Linked DNA regions of Homo sapiens: region 1 is linked to region 2. The links are contacts of gene promoters, found by promoter capture Hi-C in blood cells and fetal thymus (Javierre and others, 2016). All regions are on one chromosome and are shown on one strand. The core of a region is centred on a gene start or on the middle of the fragment in contact, and the rest is flanking DNA. Distances in the headings are between cores, read along the strand shown. Region 1 holds the start of MRPS22 (mitochondrial ribosomal protein S22). Region 2 holds the start of NKIRAS1 (NFKB inhibitor interacting Ras like 1).

The links. Contacts are between HindIII fragments. The CHiCAGO score rates a contact against its expected background, and 5 or more counts as called.
Region 1: a fragment that was not itself captured here is called in contact with the fragment with the promoter of NKIRAS1 in region 2 in 1 of 17 cell types (non-activated CD4 T cells); the score reaches 5.2 in non-activated CD4 T cells.

Annotation. Positions count from the first base shown.
Region 1 is chr3:139,343,634-139,346,333 of GRCh38, reverse strand. MRPS22 (mitochondrial ribosomal protein S22) reads right to left here and starts at 2,314. Exons shown (of 8, transcript NM_020191.4): 1 at 2,136-2,314. The coding sequence starts at 2,307. RefSeq lists enhancers at 1,707-1,826, 1,837-1,936, 1,913-2,207, 2,167-2,256. The HindIII fragment of the contact is 595 bases long and covers 1,099-1,693 here.
Region 2 is chr3:23,915,538-23,918,256 of GRCh38, reverse strand. It overlaps NKIRAS1 (NFKB inhibitor interacting Ras like 1), which reads left to right and starts at 1,267. Exons shown (of 5, transcript NM_020345.4): 1 at 1,267-1,473. RPL15 (ribosomal protein L15) reads right to left here and starts at 1,125. Exons shown (of 4, transcript NM_002948.5): 1 at 1,084-1,125; 2 at 226-407. The coding sequence starts at 397. RefSeq lists enhancers at 384-483, 413-1,612, 864-1,663. The HindIII fragment of the contact is 19,179 bases long and covers 1-2,719 here.

The DNA of each region.
Region 1 (2,700 bases), core at 147-2,646, about 120 Mb before region 2:
ACAGGAGAGGTACGGGGCTTGGGTGATTGCAGAGGAAGAAACTAAGCATAGCCTGGACTAGGGATGGGCATGACAGGGTCAAAGAAAGCGTCCCAAGAGCCTCATCACGGCAGAGAAAAAAGGGAGGGAAAGTCTAGGCTAAGAGATTGCAGCTAGGAAAGAGGCTTGGTTCACTGGACATGATACTGAAGAGGCCGTGTGTTATCATGGAAGAGCCTTTGACATAAGCAGAGAATCAAATCTTAGCTCAGCCTCATGCAGTTTGCTTATTGCTTTGCCTAACTTCTACTTCCATTTCCATTAGCAAAAAAGAAAGAAAAAGCCATTTGTTCCTAGTCACCTCTTCTTCTCCTATAAATGTTGGTATCCCTACAGATTCTGAACGATGTCCTTTTCTCCCTTCTCAGATTCTTACTCGATGATTTCTCCTATCCTGCCACGACTTCAATTACCTTTATATGCCAGAAACTCTAAAATCTGAATCTCCTGCCAAGATCACCTTCCATCCAATTACTCAACCTCTCTCATGTACTTGAATACTGCCAAGTCAGAACCCATCAACTTTCCCTTGTCTCAAACCTGCATTTTCTGTTCCCTATCTCAGCATCATCCAGTAGGCCATACAGGCCAGAAATCTTACAGCCATTCCTAAATTCTCCCTGATCCTCCAGATCTAGCCAATAGCAGTAGTAATAACAACAACAGTAATCAAATAGCTGTAGTAATAATAACAGTAATTATAAGAGCTACCATTTATTAGCTATTTACTACATGCCAATACTGACTGAGCTAAGTACTTTACACATTCAGCCCATTTAATACTCACAACAACCCATGAGGTAAACACGAAGATTATCCCAATTTTACAAAAAAAAAAAAAAAACAAAAAAAAAAACACCACTGGCAGAGAACATACTGATTGTTTGCCTTCATAAATCTCATTTTAATCCTCCATTTCCCACTGCCACTACTCTAGTCAAGGCTATCCTCATCTCTTGCATCAGCCTCCCTTTCTCCATTCTGGCCCCACTACAGATCATTCTCCACAGAGCAACCAGAGTAATCTCTTTAAAATGTAATCAAGATTACTCCCAAGCTTAAAATTCACGAATGGCTTCCAACCTCATTTAGAAAAAAAGTTAAGGTGGTCTGCTTACCTACACTATGTCTCTCACTAAGTGATGTGCTCTATGAAGACCAGACCTTGTCTTATACTCATCTCTGGCACCCAGGGTTCCTCAGGGTATCCAGCACACAGCAAGTGCTCAGCACTACTCTCTCCTCAGTCTCACCCATTCACTCACCTTTAGTTACCATTTTTACTCCGATGTTCCTCACTTTATATTTAACTCCATACTAAACAGTTGACTCTTAAAGTCACCTCAAATTTAATGTGTCCCAAATAGGTTTAATTCCGCCTCCTTTCCCATCTCCTGATCTCATCTACTCCTGCACTACCCCCGCCCCCAAAATAACGGTTCCAACAATTAATTAATCTTCTTCATCTTGGTGTAAATGGGACAACCCTCTATTCCAATCAAAAACTTAAGAAACAATCTTAATTTGTCCCTTTAAACTCATATCCAAAGCCTTAATCAAGCCTTATCAATCCTACCTCCAAAATGGGTTCCCAAATATCTGTGCTCAGTCTCATTTCTGGACATCTGCTACTGTCCCCTATGCTTGAGAAGCTTCTTGCTTTCTCCTTAGCATGGCTAACCAGATCTCAGCTTTGGTCATATTTGCCAGGAACCCTTCCCTGACCTTCCAACCTAGTTTGAGTGCCTCTCCTGTGTGCGTCCCCTATAACAACCCGGGTCACACTGCACTGCCAATTCCCCATGGACATGAGTTCCCACAGGGAAATGTCTGTGTCAGTCTTAGTTTGCCATATCCCACAGAGCTTAGCACAGTGCTCTGCACGGAGCGGAACTCAGGCACTGTAGTTGAGTGAGTGAACGAATGAACAGATATGCAGGTGATGACAAACTCTACAGGTACAGAAGGAAGACAGCTGAATCTGAGGAAGCGCTAGGATACGTGTCGCGGGGGCTATCGCGTGGTTTTCGCCTGCCAGAAACAGGATCTACGTCTCCCAGAAGAACGCCCCAGCGAAAGTCCGGAAGGTCACTTACCGGCCTCGGAGCTGAACCGGCGGCGTGGCAGCCCCATCTCGAAAGAGCAAGGTAGCGGTTGGAGCAGGCCACCGTGCCAGGGCTGGATTCGAGCCCGGAAACAGACCCGTTCCACGCCCGGAGAACTCCTCAAGAGGCTCCACAGCAATACAGTTGTTCCGAGGGGCGCCATGATTATCAGAAGCCACTTGCGCCGGAAGTGGTTGGGAGGGATTCCGAGTCACACCCAGTTCTTGCAGCACTCTGGGAAATGTAGTCTAGTTAAAGGCGGAAAGGGCCGGAAGTCTTCCGGGCCCTTATAGATTGTTTCTTCTAAACTACTTATTCACAAGTAGACGGTGTTTATGTCCTTCCCTATGCATAAAGTTAAAACTTACACCTTTTTCCCTATATGCTCTTTTTCCTACCCGTTTCCATCGTTCTAAATAACAAATTTCCGGCCAGGCGCCGTGGCTCACGCCTGTAATCCCAGCAGTCTGGGAGGCCAAGGCGGGCGGATCACCTGAGGTCAGGAGTTCGAGATTAGCCTGGCCAACATGGTGAAACCCCCGTCTCTACTAAAAAT
Region 2 (2,719 bases), core at 18-2,517:
CACTGTTTATTTTGCTTTAGTCTGAACTCATTCAGATTTGTAACCTTTGACACACTTGCCACTTTAGACAACAGTGCATACAGTAACTGACCAGTGTTGCTAGCTTTTTTCTGCCAAAGCCCTATGCGAAGAAAGACACTGAGGCAGCAGTGTCTTCCTAACAGCTGGTTTCCAACTTTTCTCGAATATAATTTTATCCAAGCATCCACGCAGTCGATCACGTACCTTGCTTGGCCTTGTAGCCCAGTCGGCGCGCTTTATCAGGCCGGGTGGGGCGGGGAGCCCTGTGGAGAGCAGAGAGCTGGCGGTACTGCCAGCAGCGGACCCTCAGAAGAAAGCGCATGACATCAGACTGCTTCTTTCTCCATAGCTCCTGGATGTACTTGTATGCACCCATCTTGGCTTACCTGTGAAATCAAACTGTGTATTAAATATCATCCGCTTTAAGTACAATAAGACGACTGTATCCGTCCATCTTAGTTCCCCAACAAAAACAAGGAAACCGCCGGGAATGAAAATGGCTCTGCACCAACTGCCGGGGACAGCTAGCCCAACCCCCACCACTGCGCCCACGGAGCCGCGTTCAGTCACTTCCGCAACCCCAGCACAGAGCGGTGCTCGGCACGTTTTGGTGGGGCGAATTAACAGAACCAGAACTGAGCACCAAGGGGGCGGGTGGCTGCGGCAGGCGGCGTCCCCAAGGAGGACCTGAAAGGAGATGCCGCTGACATCACAGGACAAGGTACTGCTGCGGCCACCGAGGATTAACTCTCGAGGAAAATGCATCTACCCCACCCAACCAGCAGCCTCACTTTAGGCTGCCTTGTCCCGGGCGCCCCATTCGTCAGCCCCACGCCTCCTCCAGGATCCGGGCCCAGCTCGAATTCGCGCCGCCATCACATCTTCGCTCAACCCGCCCCGGGGGCCGCCTCTCCACCCCTTTGCTGTCCCGCATCCTGACCAAACTCTGGCCGCACAGGAGGGAGACCTATCTCCGAGGACGCAGGGTCCCCGGACCTGGATGGCTGAAGAGGAAGACGATCAAAGGCGGATGGAAGAGCAAAGATCCTCAACGCAGCCTACCTGATGGCTGCCGCCAGACGGAAAGGAAAGAGCTGTACTCCCACAATGCCTTTTGGGCTCCTCCCCCACCTCAGCCACCCTCTTTCCGGTGGAAAGCTGCGGCCTCCCAGAGCGTCATGGGACATGTAGTTCCGGCATCGCGCCTGGTGGCGGAGTTCTGCCGAGTGGGGCGCCGCGGCCGCTATTGTCCCGCCCCCTGCTCCGCAAGATTCGAGCCTGAGCGGCCTGGGCGTCTCGAGAGGTGAGAGAGTTGGCGGCGAGGTCTCGGCGGCTAAGCGAGCGTCGGCGACTGTCTCTCCGCGAGAGGAGGCAAGTTGGGGTCCAGGCTCCAAAGCCGGTGGCCGCGTACCGCGGTGGAGCCGCTGTCTTTGAGGTCTGAGGAGAGAACAGGTTTGTTTCACGCACCGCGGGCTCTCCCCCTGCGGAGTCTCTGCGTCTCCGCGTCTCCGCGCTGCGCTGTCCCTCTCTGGCCACCGCACGACGGGCGCAGAAATCTGGGCCCCAGAGCTGCGCTGAGAGATCCCCCGACGCTTCCCCAGCCTCCCAGGGAGGCCTTCGCGGAGTCGGGGCGTCGCGGGTCGGGGCGCTCGCTGTGTCCCTTCAGCTCCAGACTGCGTGAAGCTCCTCCAGCAGGCCCCAGCGCCCAGGGATTTTGTCCTAAAAAAGGGTCATGGAGTGGGTGGATTGCGGGCGGCCCGGCGCTTTTTCTGCATACGGATTTCGTCCCAAATTTGCTAACATGAGAACCACAGTTTTTCAGAAGAGCAGAATGTTTATTTGCCAAGACCTGTTTGGCAGGTGTGAATGTTTTAGAGAAGAAATGCCGAGAAAATGCTGGCATTTTGCGTTGCGGGTTTTTTTTTAAATTGAGAAATAGGTTACTGGCTTACTTTGTTTCTCCAGAATATTTTCACTTGGCTTTAATTTAAGTCATGTGGCTTTAATTTCCTTCCAGATTATGCGTTCAGATGTGGCAAAGGCTTAAGAGAATCATTATCTCTTAATCGTAGCGGTTTTGATTATCTTTTTTCCCACATCATATTTTTCTTTCTTTCTTTTTAAATCACAGCTTTACGTTTTTAAGAGTCTCTATCTGGTTCATTGATTGATTCAACAAATATTTATTAAGTGTCTAATATGTGCCAGGCATAGTTGCTGGGGATGCAGCAGGAAACAACGCAGAATTTTTGGCCTTCTTGGAAATGGGCAGTAAGCAGAAGTAAGCTGTGTTTTGGGTTTGGTGGTAAATGCTAAGGAAAAAAGATAAGGGGAGGGAAGTGATGAGGGAGTGTTAGCGGCTGAGGGTTGCAATTTGGAATGGAGTGTCCAGGTTAAGTCTTTGAGAGAAGGTAACATTTAAGAAAGGACTTCAAGGATAGGAGTCTGGGAGTAAGAGTAGGGGTCTGATTCAGGCAGAGGGAGAAGAGCCATGACTGGAGCATGCAAGATTAATAGAGGAACAGCAGGGAAGCAGTGTGGCTGAAATTCACAGTAGGGGAAAGTGGGAAATGACGTCGGAGAGGTGAAGGTTCTCACATGGACTTTGGATTTCATTGGCAGATTTTGAACAGAAGGATGACTTCATATGGCGTACATTTTAAAAAGATAACTCGGATTGCTCCTTTTGAGGCTAAAA